Regions from separate parts of the Homo sapiens genome. Here all the other regions are linked to region 3. The links are contacts of gene promoters, found by promoter capture Hi-C in human tissues and cell types (Jung and others, 2019). All regions are on one chromosome and are shown on one strand. Each heading gives the region's core, a stretch centred on a gene start or on the middle of the fragment in contact. The rest is flanking DNA. Distances are from core to core; before and after follow the strand shown.

Evidence for each region. Contacts are between HindIII fragments. The study calls those that stand out against the background at their distance.
Region 1: a contact is called between a fragment that was not itself captured here and the fragment with the promoter of CAPZA3 in region 3, in 1 of the 25 tissues and cell types used here (dorsolateral prefrontal cortex).
Region 2: a fragment that was not itself captured here is called in contact with the fragment with the promoter of CAPZA3 in region 3 in 2 of the 25 tissues and cell types used here (heart right ventricle and thymus).
Region 4: a fragment that was not itself captured here is called in contact with the fragment with the promoter of CAPZA3 in region 3 in 3 of the 25 tissues and cell types used here (dorsolateral prefrontal cortex, mesendoderm cells and thymus).

Annotation. Positions count from the first base shown.
Region 1 is chr12:19,675,079-19,678,556 of GRCh38, reverse strand. No RefSeq gene overlaps it. Among named protein-coding and RNA genes, the nearest start is that of AEBP2, 240 kb to the right of the region's middle. The HindIII fragment of the contact is 9,322 bases long and covers 1-3,478 here.
Region 2 is chr12:19,290,199-19,293,685 of GRCh38, reverse strand. It overlaps PLEKHA5 (pleckstrin homology domain containing A5), which reads right to left. Exons shown (of 32, transcript NM_001256470.2): 14 at 2,890-3,009; 15 at 1,989-2,042. Among named protein-coding and RNA genes, the nearest start is that of AEBP2, 150 kb to the left of the region's middle. The HindIII fragment of the contact is 4,219 bases long and covers 1-3,487 here.
Region 3 is chr12:18,736,137-18,739,427 of GRCh38, reverse strand. It overlaps CAPZA3 (capping actin protein of muscle Z-line subunit alpha 3), which reads right to left and starts at 1,309. Exons shown (of 1, transcript NM_033328.3): 1 at 240-1,309. The coding sequence starts at 1,159. The coding sequence ends at 260. PLCZ1 (phospholipase C zeta 1) reads left to right here and starts at 1,416. Exons shown (of 15, transcript NM_033123.4): 1 at 1,416-1,496; 2 at 1,919-2,067; 3 at 3,084-3,207. The coding sequence starts at 2,057. The HindIII fragment of the contact is 1,043 bases long and covers 854-1,896 here.
Region 4 is chr12:19,253,613-19,256,794 of GRCh38, reverse strand. It overlaps PLEKHA5 (pleckstrin homology domain containing A5), which reads right to left. Exons shown (of 32, transcript NM_001256470.2): 4 at 2,772-2,855; 5 at 1,630-1,750. Among named protein-coding and RNA genes, the nearest start is that of PLEKHA5, 130 kb to the right of the region's middle. The HindIII fragment of the contact is 4,359 bases long and covers 1-3,182 here.

The sequences.
Region 1 (3,478 bases), core at 909-3,408, 940 kb before region 3:
GATTAACCAAGAAAAAAAGAGAGAAAATCCGAATAACCTCAGTAAGAAACAAAACAGGAGATACTACAACTGACACAACAGAAATACAAAAGATCATTCAAGGCTACTATGAATACCTTTACCCACATAAACTAGAAAACCTAGAAGAGGTGGATAAATTCCTGGAAAAATACAACCCTCCTACCTTAAATCAGGAAGAATTAGATACCCTGAGCAGACCAATAACAAGCAGTGAGATTGAAATGGTAATTAAAAAATTACCAACAAAAAAAAGTTCGGGACCAGATGGATTCACAGCAGAATTCTACCAGACATTCAAAGAAGAATTGGTTCCAATCCTTTTGACACTATTCCACAAGATAGAGAAAGAGGGAACTCTCCCTATTTCATTATATGAAGCCAGCATTACCCTAATACCAAAACCAGGAAAGGACATAACCAAAAAAGAAAACTACAGACTGATGTCCCTGATGAACATAGATGCTAAAATCCTTCACAAAATACTAGCTAACTAATCCAATAACATGTCGAAAAGATAATGCACCATGATCAAGTGGGTTTCATACCACGGATGCAGGGATGGTTTAACATACACAAGTCAATAAATGTGATACACCACATAAACAGAATTAAAAACAAAAATCACACGATCATCTTAAAGATGCAAAAAAAGCATTTGACAAAATCCAGCATTCCTTTATGATTAAAACTCGCAGCAAAATTGGCATACAAGGGACATACCTCAATGTAATAAAAGCCATCTATGACAAACCCACAGCCACATAATACTGAATGGGGAAAAGTTGAAAGCATTCCCTCAGAGAACCGGAACAAGACAAGGATGCCCACTCTCACCACTCCTCTTCAACATAGTACTAGAAGTCCTAGCCAGAGCAATCAGACAAGAGAAAGAAATAAAGGGCATCCAAACTGGTAAAGAGGAAGTCAAATTGTCACTGTTTGCTGGTGATATGATCGTTTACCTTGAAAGCCCTAAGGACTCCTCTGGAAAGTTCCTAGAACAAATCAAAGAATTCAGCAAAGTTTCCAGATGCAAGATTAATGTACACAAATCAATAGCTCTTCTATACACCAACAGCGACCAAGTGGAGAGTCAAATCAAGAACTCAACTCCTTTTACAATAGCTGCAAAAAATAAAATAAAATACTTAGGAATATACCTAACCAAGGAGGCAAAAGACCACTATGAGGAAAACTACAAAACACTGCTGAAAGAAATCATAGATGACACAAACAAATGGAAACACATCCCATGCTCATGAATGGGTAGAATCAATATTGTGAAAATGACCATACTGCCAAAAGCAATCCACAAATTCAACACAATCCCCATCAAAATACCACCATTATACTTCACAGAATTAGAAACAACAATTCTAAAAGTCATATGAAACCAAAAAAGAGCCTGCATAGCCAAAGCAAGACTAAGCAAAAAGAACAAATCTGAAGGCATCACACTACCTGATTTCACACTATGCTATAAGGCTATAGTCACCAAAACAGTGTGGTACTAATATTAAAATAGGCACATAGACCAATGGAACAGAATAGAGAACCCAAAAATAAACCCAAATACTTACAGCCAACTGATCTTCGACAAAACAAACAAAAACATAAAGTGGGGAAAGGACACCCTTTTCAACAAATGGCTAGCCACATGTAGAAGAATGATGGAATACTACTCAGCCATAAAAAGGAAAGAATTCACAGCATTTGCAGTGACCTGGTTGAGACTGGAGACTATTATTCTAAGTGAAGTAATTCAGGAATGGAAAATCAAACACCGTATGTTCTCACTGATATGTGGGAGCTAAGCTATGAGGACGCAAAGGCATAGAATGATACAATGGACTTTGGGGACTTGAAGGGAACGGTGGGAGCAGGGCGAGGGATAAAAGACTACAAATAGGATACGGTGTACACTGCTCGGGTGATGGGTGCACCAAAATCTCACAAAGCTCCACTAAAGAACTTATTCATGTAACCGAATACAACCTGTACCCCAATAACCTATGGAAAAATAAATATAAAAATAAAGAAGATTACCCTACAATCCCTCCTCTTCTGCTTCTGTTGTAAAAACAGAAGATTGGGAAAAGACACAACTGACATACTCCAAGTTTTTCTGCATTCCAGAATTGGCTGGGTAACCGTACTGCTATATGGAACTTGATAGCGCATTCATGAGAATTTTACTAAATACAAGTCACTTTATCACAAAAATGAATAAATAAATAATTTATTCTGGAATAAATCATCAAGTACTTAGAAATAAATCTAATGAGTGAAGTGTAACATCTCTACTCCAAAAAAATACAAAATGTTGGCTGGGCATGGTGGCTCATGCCTATAATCCCAGCACTTTGGGAGGCCAAGGTGAACAGATTGCTAGAGACCAGGAGTTTGAGAACAGCCTGGGCAACATAGCGAAACCCCATCTCTCCAAAACAAACAAACAAACAAACAAAAATTAGCCATGCCTACTGGCACACGTTTGTAGTCCTAGCTACTTGGAAGGCTGAGGTAGGAGAATTGATTGAGCCCAGGAGGTTAAGATTGCAGTGAGAGATGATTGTGCCACTGTACTCCAACCTGGGTGACAGTGCAAGACCCTGTCCCCAAAAATAAAATAAATAAAATAAAAAATAACTAAAATTATTGGGAGAGAGATATTATATTCATAAATTAGAAGACTCAATATTGTAAAATTATCATTTTCTCCCAAATTGATCTATAAATTCAGTGCAATCCCAGTCCAAATCCCAGCTAAATTTTGTTTAATAAATTTAACAAGCTGGTTCAAATATTTGTATAGTAATACAAAGAACAGTTAGTCTTTCACTTTCAGGTATCAAGACTTATTACATTGCTGCAGTAATTAAGAGAATTAGTGAAAGGATAGATATTAGTCAATGGAAAAGAAAAGAGTCCACTTGATGTATGATTAAAGTAACACACGATTAGTTAGGAAAAGGATATTCTTTTTAGTCAGTGTTGCTGGGTCAACTGGATATGAATCAGTTGGGTAACCACAGGGGAAAATGTGAATCTTGAGCTTCTGCCTCACCTCATATGCAAATACCAGTTCCAGATATACTGTAGATCTATCTATATGTGAAAGCTAAAAAACTGAGCTTCTTGGCGCACAGAAAGTCAAATATCACATGTTCTCATTCATCTGTGGGAGCTAAAAAAGTGGATCCCATGGCAGTAGAGGATAGAATGCTGGTTACCAGGGGCTGGGAAGGGAAGGGAGAAGGGGGCATAAAAAGAAGTTAGTTAATAGGTACAAAAGTGCAGTTAAATAGTAGGAATAAGTTCTAACATTCAATAGTACAGTAGGGAAATTACAATTAAGAATAATTTATTGTACATATCAAAATAGCTAGAAGATAATTATAATATTCCCGACACAAAGAAAAGATAAATGTTTGAGGTGATGGATATCCCAGTTACC
Region 2 (3,487 bases), core at 608-3,107, 550 kb before region 3:
TCAGTAATAAATTACAGTAAACCACAAGGTTTATTTTCAGAGATGTGGGGTAACTTCAGATTCATGTTTATATCATTGTTTTTTAAACCTATTTTTTAGGACTATTTGCAGCTCTAAATACAAAGGAGTTTTTTATTTCCCATGTATCTTAGCAGCTTTCTGGCAGTGTAGAATTTTGAAGGAAGATGCATTTTTCTAGTGCATAATATACAAAGTGCATAATATACACTGTGGTTAAATTTCAATAGCCTCAATCTCTGGATTGAAGATCTGGAATTCGGATACATGAAATGCTGATTTTTAAAGTATTCCAATGGCCAAAATGCTGATGAAAATGTTTTGTGGAAAATATATAAATTTTATATTAACAAAAGTGTGTTACTTTTAAAAATTAAAATAAGGAAAATGATTTAACACCTTTCAAAGGGTTATCCTAATGCAAAATCCCTCTTTAAATACAACTAATTTAAAGTAGCACATTACTGTTTTGTTTCAAACAGGCAAATATAAATATGAAAGCATTTGTCTTATTTTCTACAGTAACCTCTTTATTTGATAAAATAGTCAAGTTTGGACATTTTGAAACAAGCTAGAATAAGTTTTAGCTTGATTTATATAAAAAAATGTATTCAATGAAAGAAATTATGTCTAATAACAAAAAATTCCCAACAAATTAAAATTAAATATTAATAGAACATTTTATAAAAACTGAGTCACTCCTTGTTAAATGCCACTTTCTTTTTTTTTGAGATAGAGTCTCGCTCTGTTACCCAAGCTGGAGTGCAGTGGTGTGATCTTGGTTCACTGCAACCTCTGCCTCCAGGGCTCAAGTGATTCTCCTGCCTCAGCCTCCCAAGTAGCAGGGATTACAGGTGCACACCACCATGCTCGGCTAGTTTTTGTATTTTTAGTAGAGACGGTGTTTCGCCACGTTGGCTGGGCTGGTCTCAAATTCCTGACCTTAGGTGATCCACCTGCCTCAGCCTCCCAAAGTGCTGGGATTACAGGCGGGAGCCACCACACCCGGCCCATTGCCATTTTCACTTTTGAACATTCACCTCAACCAGGCACACCTGGTGCCACCACTGAGGTAATGCTAGGAATGTGAGCCTCCTATAAAACTGGCTCTACACACGTTGGCAAAGACCAAACATTGGAAGTACACAGCAAACAGGGAATAAGGACAGGCAACTGCAAATCACCTCCACTACACACTTCACCCATCTTCCTTCCTCCCTTACTCCCTCCCTCTCTCTCTTTCTCTGTTTCTTTATTTTTAAGACAGAGTCTTGCGCTGTAGCCCAGGCTGGAGTGCAGTGGTGCATGATCTCGGCTCACTGCAACCTCCACCTCCCGGGTTCAAGCAATTCTCATGCCTCAGCCTCCCAAGCTGCTGGGATTACAGACGTTCACTGTGACGCCCGGCTCATTTTTGTATTTTTAGTAGAGGCAGGGTTTCTCCATGTTGGCCAGCCTCGTCTCGAACTCCTGGCCTCCAGTGAGCCGCCTGCCTCAGCCTCCCAAAGTGCTGGGATTACAGGCATGAGCCATTGCATCCAGCCAACTTCACCCACCTTTAAACTCCCCTTTAGGAATACAGAGCACACTACATTCACCCTCCTTCTTGCCTTCCAACAAGACAATTCACAGCTTGGTGTCTGTTCCTTTAATTAGGTCAGCTCCAAGCTGAGATAAGCCTCAAGGAGTAGGTGTTTTAATGGGATAAGAAGAACGAAGTCTAGAGAATTTAGGCCCTCAATTTCAGGTGACCCAGCATTTGTATCCCTCTTTACCTCCACACCTGTCCTTTCTCCCTGTTTATTATGGAATTCCTGAATCCACCTGGTCAGAGATTTCATATTCTATCACTTGTAAAAGTCATGTTATTAATTCAACGTGACTGAAATAGCTGAGAAGCCTGAAAAACTGTATTATATTTAAGAAGTTCTATTAAGTATTAAAAGTAAGAAAATCTCTATGAATCCCACCTGATGATCCAAATATATGGTGTTCCTTTGGAGATGATGTGAAAGAATTTCATTCTAGTAGGCACCAATTAAGAAAAAAGGGACAGAGAAAGAGGATGTGGAATTCAAGAAAAGGTCAATTTTGGAATAAGAAAAACAGGTAATTTACTACAACCTATTATATCACAGTACACGACAACTTTCACGCACATGCTCCCCTGTAAATGGTACCGCTGACATATTAAATTACAAAATTATATTTTGTTTTGTAAGAAATTACGTAGACATGCATATGAACAATGAACTATTAAGCAGAAAAATTCCTTAAAATAGCTTTAGCAAACTGACTGTTAGAACTTTTACATGTCAATTATTTCCTCTAATATAGTACTACTTCTTTAAATAAGATCTTTCTTATATAACCAGAGCTATAAACCCTTTGAGAAACGGTTATGTGTTCGTTCTTTTCATTAAAAATAAGACATTTTAAAATTAATTTTTAACATTTAAAAGGCAGTATTATTAAAGCTATAATGAATTTTTAATTTATTGTTTTATTGGAAATTATAGGACTTCTCAATATTTGTTTTACCAGATATGGAAGTCACAGTATTCAGTGAGTAACAACATGAAGTTAATGCGTACATGAAGTATTGTACGCATTGCCTTCCTCAAAACCAAAAGCCAGTGGGTGAGCGGGTGGGGTAGAAGGCTAAGAAGAAATGCACCCTACCTGTATTTTCTTTCAGTAATGTATAAATAAGTTGAATTCTCAAAGGGTTAATAGGAGATTCTAATGTTGTCACTATAATGATGGTATGGGCTCATGCTCAACACTAATGATGCTGATCATATTGACTGATGAGTGTTTCAAAATAAGAGATGATGGCAGACGACACAGACAAATCTCTCCATAGCTGACCTTTGGGCTGTGGGCCTCAAGCTTTAGCTGCATGAGCTGTGCTAACGTATGCTCCCGGATACTACTCAGTTCGGCTTGCTGCCGTCTCAGCTTTATTAGCAGCAGCGTAAGCTCCTCTGGCTGAAGGAGTACAATTTAAGAATCCAAACAGTGGAAAACAGATTAATTGTTGTCTTAAGTGACAGATATTAAACCAAGATTTCTTGGCAAGTTTCCTCTTATGGTTGACATCAAACATAGTGCCTAGGCACTATGATGATAGGTCCTACATAAATGCATAGATATCTAGAGAAATAGAAGGAACAGTGTTACTTTAAAAGATACAGCAAAACAACAGTAAATTAAGGCATTTTCTCAGAACTCATGAGAACATTTAAATGTTAAGTACAAAAAAGCACAATGCCAAAAAAACATTATAAAGGTTTGTACATAAGTGCTACTAAAAAATTATTAAAAGATATTTTACTAAGATATCTAAAAAAATTACACCTTTTCCCAGCAATAGTACAAATACCTGCATGTCCAACTTTCTAACAGAACTACATAAAATAATTAAAATAAATGTAGTCCGGGCACAGTGGCTCACGCCTGTAATCCC
Region 3 (3,291 bases), core at 60-2,559:
CCAGATTCTATAAAACTATTTTAGTTTCTAACAAATGTCTTGGTCTTTATGATGGTCACCACCATGAAACACAGTTACTTTACACTTTCTTGCCTTGTTCATAAATATTCCCCAAGTAAAATTACTTGCTACACTTTTCCCATTTAAATTTGCATTGGCTAAGTGAGAGACATCTCTACAGATTGCTCAATTTTAGGAAAATAACCATTCCCAAGAAACACAAACAAGTCAAATCAAGATAGTTACCAGGAGCAATTCTTTATATTATCCAGTTGCACAACACACTTCTTGAATAAATGACATATCCTAATTTAGGATACATCACCAGATTCAAGTCAGAGAGTATCCTGTGCCAGTCAATAAGAGTGCGGGTCACTGGAAGATCCCTTCGTAGAATTTTTCTCAGGGCTTCATTGGATAACTCCTGTAATTCTTCCAAGACTGCAGCTTGAAATTTGTTCTCTTGCTCTTCCACAAGCCTTGCAAAACTTAGAGCCAGTTGAGCTTGGTTAACTATTTCCAAGCTTTCTTTCAGGTCCTTGGATATTTCAATATGAAGGTTGACACACCTGAAGAAGTGAGCTTGCACAAATATTCTTCCCGTTACTTGGGTTAGAAATGGGTTAACTTGGAAAATCCATTTAGATTTCCAAAGTCCGTTCCAGCACTCTCCTGTTTCATAGTTGTGATCTTCAATGCAAGCTATCAAGTACTCCTTACTTTTGACAGTTTTTCTCAGCATGTTGCAATTTCCTTTTGGATAGTGGTCATTCACATACAGTTTTAAGGCGCACAGAAGAACAACTCTCAGGTATTCTGCCTCATTCTGAATGATACCATGACTTTGGATGTCTTTCAGCTGATTTTGAAGCAGGTCATATTTGAAAGAAAGTTTGCTTTGATGGTCAAAAAATCGGTAGTCGCCCATTACATTGTGGTGAGACAAGAGTACTGGATTTCCATCGATGCAGAGTGGTACAGAATATTTTTGGCAGTGTTGGTGGCCTGCACACTCACCTTGGTGGTGCATAAGTTTTTCATCACGGATAAGCAGACAGAGATCATCAAAGGCATTTACAAATTCCCCTGGAGGGGCCTGTAATAACAGTCTGCGAATTACTCTTTCCTTGTCCTTCCTGCTCAGCACGCTAAGTGTCATGTTTGGTTGCAACAGAAGCAAAGCTTCTGAAATGAGGAGTGTTCAAAGGATAAGAAAACATTCCATGAGCCACCTTTCCCATCAAGGTGTTAACATTCAAGCTGAAGGTTTTTATGTCTATCCATGAAAGCAGGCAGTCTGGCAAGGTCTGAGCCTCCTGATGAGGTCATAAGAAGCTTTCCTTGTGAAGTGTGGAACCTCTGATGATATCACAATGGGAATTCAGACCAAAAGGAAAAAATGACAGTCACCTGACAGTGTGGTGCCCAGCCAACCAGCTATACCTCTTTTGAAGATTTTAAGAACTTAGCCTCCTGAACAGTCTTCTTCGAAAGTGGTGTGTCTCTGTGTGCATTATATGTTGTCAACGATCTAGAGAAGCAGCCCAAAGTTTCAAGAGTGACAGCACTTTGCAACTTCAGGAATCACAATGGTGTTGATTTATACTCAGGCTCTCAGAGTAGCTGCCCAAACCCACTGGAAGCATATTATGATGAAAGGTTTGAGGGGTTTAAACAAAGTAGTAAAAAATAAAAGGAGATACAATGGCAGTTCATGGAAAAATGCCAGACATCAGGGAAAGCTGTGTTTTCAAATATTGTGGGTTTGGAGGTGGTCAGAACGTAAGAAGCCAAACAGTTTCAAGGGCAGGGTAGTGCAGGTACCACATCTTGCATACTGTTTCTATGGTTAAGTGTGAGCTAGCTTCAAAGAACGAAGGCAAAAAAAACCACTGTGTGTTCTCTGCTTTCTCCCTAGAAAAGTGGTAACAGCTGATGAGTATCAAGAAATTATTTTCTGCAAAGGGGCAGAGTTAATTGTATTTGGAACCCATGACAGCACCTACTGGGGAAAGACTTCTAAGTGAGGAGAAACGGCTCTACAGGTCATGAAACTATGGAAATGAGATATCCATTGAGAGCTTCTTTCTGCTCCTCTTCTTCTTTCTCCTACTTATCCTCTTTACTTGATGCTGTTATTCTTTTCGAGGAGTTCTGAATTTAAGTCCTCTTCATTTAAGTTGAACTGCTTTTCCCTGTTTGTTCTGAGCTTTTCTAACTTTCCCTGCATTCTGGTATCTTTTTCTTACAAGAACATGAGCTTTGCTGGATTAAGTCATAACTATTAAATTTAAGGAGATCTCATTAATTCGTTCTAACAATCTGAAACTTAGTAGTTTTGCACAATTTTTACCTATACCTTTTATAATTTTAGTGATAATTGTCATTATCTCATTTCGATCTTAGTTTTTCAAATGGAAGTGTCCTAGTTTTTGTAGTTTATCTATGATAAGTAAGCTTTTAAAAATTTTTTTCGTTTTTCATACCAAATATACACTCACCATGGTATTTCTGATGCTTTTTGATGGTACTGTCTTGAGTGTGTGTGTAGCTGGGCATTGGACTAATGTAGTAATAATAACTTTATCAGTCATGGTTACTATTTATTGAACACTAAGTAGCAGAAACTGTGTTCGGTGGCATATTAGGAATTCATCTAATGCTTCCACTTTCCTTAAGATTCAGGGTTAATTTGCTCACCTTTCTGGAAGAGAGAACTAAAACAGAGAGGTCAGGTGAGAGGCGATCTTGAAGTCTAGCTGCCTTCCAACTTCATGCCTTCAGGCAATAGATTGTTATAATGTTTTAATGTATGTTCTAAGTAATGACTTCAATTCTCAAATTTTAACTTTAATTCTTTTTTTTGTATTTTTACTGTGCTATGCCCTTTCATACCTTTACCATAGCATAGTAACTACTTAATTTTGTTTTTTAAAAAATATTTATCATACAATTATACTATAATTTACTTTAAACATATTCTTTAAAAATAAAAATAATACAGTAAATCAAATGTTTCTTTAGGAATTTTAAATATTCAATGACTTTCTGTGAGAATTTCCTTAACTTTTTTGTGCTTCTACATGGTTTTTGTCAAAGATTCAGGATGACTTCAGAGGTGGAAAAATTAACCTAGAAAAAACTCAGAGGTTACTTGAAAAATTAGATATTCGGTGCAGTTATATTCATGTGAAACAGATTTTTAAGGTAAGATGACATCCACCCCCTGCCTATCCTATCCTAGGTGGAACTTAATCCAATGTCAGTAATTGTCATATAAAGGTTAGTCTC
Region 4 (3,182 bases), core at 146-2,645, 520 kb before region 3:
TTTATTTTGGCAGGAATCATAATGGTGACCAACAAAGATGAAAACAATGAAGCTATAAAGTAACATAAAATTATCTCTTACTTTTCTACTTGTTCAGAATCTTTGGAAATCCAGCATACTTCTTTAGAATTTTGTTTTGGGAAGCTTTTATTAGTATATAAGAAAATTTTAAGGCCCAATATCAACAAAATTTTTCCTAAAGCATGTTTTCTTGATAGATTTTAATTTACTTTCAAACAGGTAATGCTTAAAAACAGTATAAAACTCAAACGACACAAAAAGATACACAAAGATCAATCTACTCACTCTTGGGCTCCAGCACCCAGCTAGCCCCACTCACAACTGTGTGGCAACCAATATCACTGTATGTGTGTGCCTATCTATCTAAAATAATTGTTCTCATGATTAATGAGTATTTTTCTGAAATGACTGCATATTTTAATATCCACTCTTCTGTTCCATTATTTCTTGGAGCTCACTATATAAACCGAATGCCTATTTACCCATACTGTTGTTAGTGTGCTGTGTTATGAAACTTTCTGATCTTTGGAAATCTGCAGGTGGAAATGGTGTCTTTTTCTGGTTTTAATTAGTATTTTTCATATTATGGATGAGGCTGAGAATCTTTTTTCATATATTTAAGAGTAAATTCCATTTTCTTTCCCGAAAACTGATTTCATATAATTTTTCCATTTCCAAACTGGCTCATAAGCCCTTTTCTTATTGATTCACAGCACTTCTTTAATTATAAGGAAATTATTCTTTAATTGTTATATGAATTACAGATACTCTGCATGGATAATAATTACGTGTGGTTGAATTTCTCATTATTTTATATTGTTACTTCTGAGTTTTATGTCATATTTAGAAAGCCCATCTGCATTCTGAGCTTTTCTTTTTTTTTTTTTTTCAAATCTTCCATTGTTTTTTTCTTAGTTTTGTTTTTAACATTTCAACAACTGATCCATCTAGAAAATTTCTGGTGTAAAGTATGAGGAACAGATTCAACTTTCTTTCAAGACAATGACCTAGTGGCTCTCAATCCATTCATCAATTTCTCCAGATTTTAATTAAAATATACTCATAAAGCATTATGCTCAGTTAGCCTGTTGGATTTATTTTACTTAATAATCAGAAATTATTTATATTACTTGAAAATTTACATTCATTTATAATCTCCTAACAAAATTTTATTTCAAAAACCTTAACTGGCATTTAAAATACTATTATTATAATTATCTTATAATTATCTATTTCCTTACAATAAACATAATATACTATTACAATGGTTTTGCTGAAAAATGTTTTCTCCATCTAAGCATTCTTATAGTCAGATAATTTGATTTCTAGGCTATTACATGAATAATCACCTTTAAAACTTAAGTGTACCCATTCTCTCTCACAAATATCAATGTATTTCTAAAATTATTCCAAATTTAAAAATTTAAGTCACTGAATTACAATCTTATTACTTTGTATTTCGGGCTGTTGCTTCTTATATCAATTACCTTCAAATTCATGTAATAATAAAAATGTAATTATTATTCTATACTTTTAAGTCCATTATGAGTAACGGTATAGATACTGTTTACTCCTTATCAATAATTAATATAAAGCAAAATAACTTACTCTGCCTACAGGGCTCATTGGATGCACTGCATAATCTGAAGTCACGTTATAGTTAGAAGCTTCATTTATCATACTTATTGGCCGTTCCTTCTTTTCTTCAGATGTCATGGTTGCAACAGTCCTGAAAATATATGTCAAAATGCTAGAACTTGCTGTGTATGTAACCCGCTTTATAATTACACTTCTCTACAGTTAACAATGCGAGTGTCCTACTTTTTCACAGTACTTGGATCCTAGTTACTCTAGAGTCAGGCCTTAATACTTACAACAACTTTAAATACAGCTAACGCTTTTCCTAAGCCAAAAATACATTATTATCATGTTTATTTATTATTAGTTTTTAAGACAAGAGTCTCACTCTGTTGCTCAGGCTACAGTGCAGTGGCGTAATCTTGGTTCACTGTAGAATCTGCCTCCCAGGTTCAAGTGATTTTCCTGCCTCAGACTCCTCAGTAGCTGGGACTACCAGCACGTTCCACCATGCCCGGCTAATTTTTCTATTTTTTTAGTACAGTCAGGGTTTCACCATGTTGGCCAGGCTGGTCTTGAATGCCTGACCTCAAGTGATTCGCCCACCTTGGCCTCCCAAAGTGCTAGGATTACAGGCGTGAGCCACTGTGCCCGGCCTATCATGTTTATTTATAATAGGCATTATTGCAGATATTCTACTTGGTCACCCAACTGAAAAATTAAAAATGAATTATGAGATTATTCTAATTTTAAAAACAATAACAATTTCAGTAACTAACTCTGTGAATAGCTTTATAGTATAATACATTCTTTGATGCTTATAAAACTCTTGTGAAATAGTAATTACCACTATCTGATTTAAGGATGAGAAAAGTGAGCTCAAATTAGTTTAATAATCTAACCATTTACACAGTTTCTCTAAGCTTGCATCCCGGGTTCTTGAGCTTACTGCGTTTGAAGTACTATAAAAACAGCTTCTGAAATTACATTCTTCATGAAAAAAATGTTTAACTCAGGTTTCTATATGACACATTGTGAACAGCTGGCATTCTGTTATTATACTTGACTACAAATGTCCAGATAAGAAAACTGCTAAATTGAAATATAAATAACAGCAATTTCAATGCTAACCCAATTTTGAATACAGGCATTCCATGAAACTCTTTACTTACTGTTCATTCACTACAAAAATACAATTGTCCTGTGATGGTTGTCCTGTGACTGGATGTTTGCAGGTCACTTTCCTTTCATTATGGCTGAAAAAAGGAAAAAAGAAAAACAGAACATGCAGGTATTTAAAATTCCCATTTATTTATTGTAACATTAGTCTACAAAGGAAATGAAATTCAAACTTCCAGCCTTTTTTTTTGTTTTTGAGACGGAGTTTTATTCTTGTCGCCCAGGTTGGAGTGCAATGGCGCATTCTCGGCTTACTACAACCTCTGCCTTCTGGGTTCAAGCAATTCTTCTGCCTCAGCCTCCCAAGTAGCTTGGATTATAGGCGCCCACCATCACGCGCCCAGTTAATTTTTTGTATTTTTAGTAGAGACAGGATTTCACCATGTTGGTCAGGTTGGTCTTGA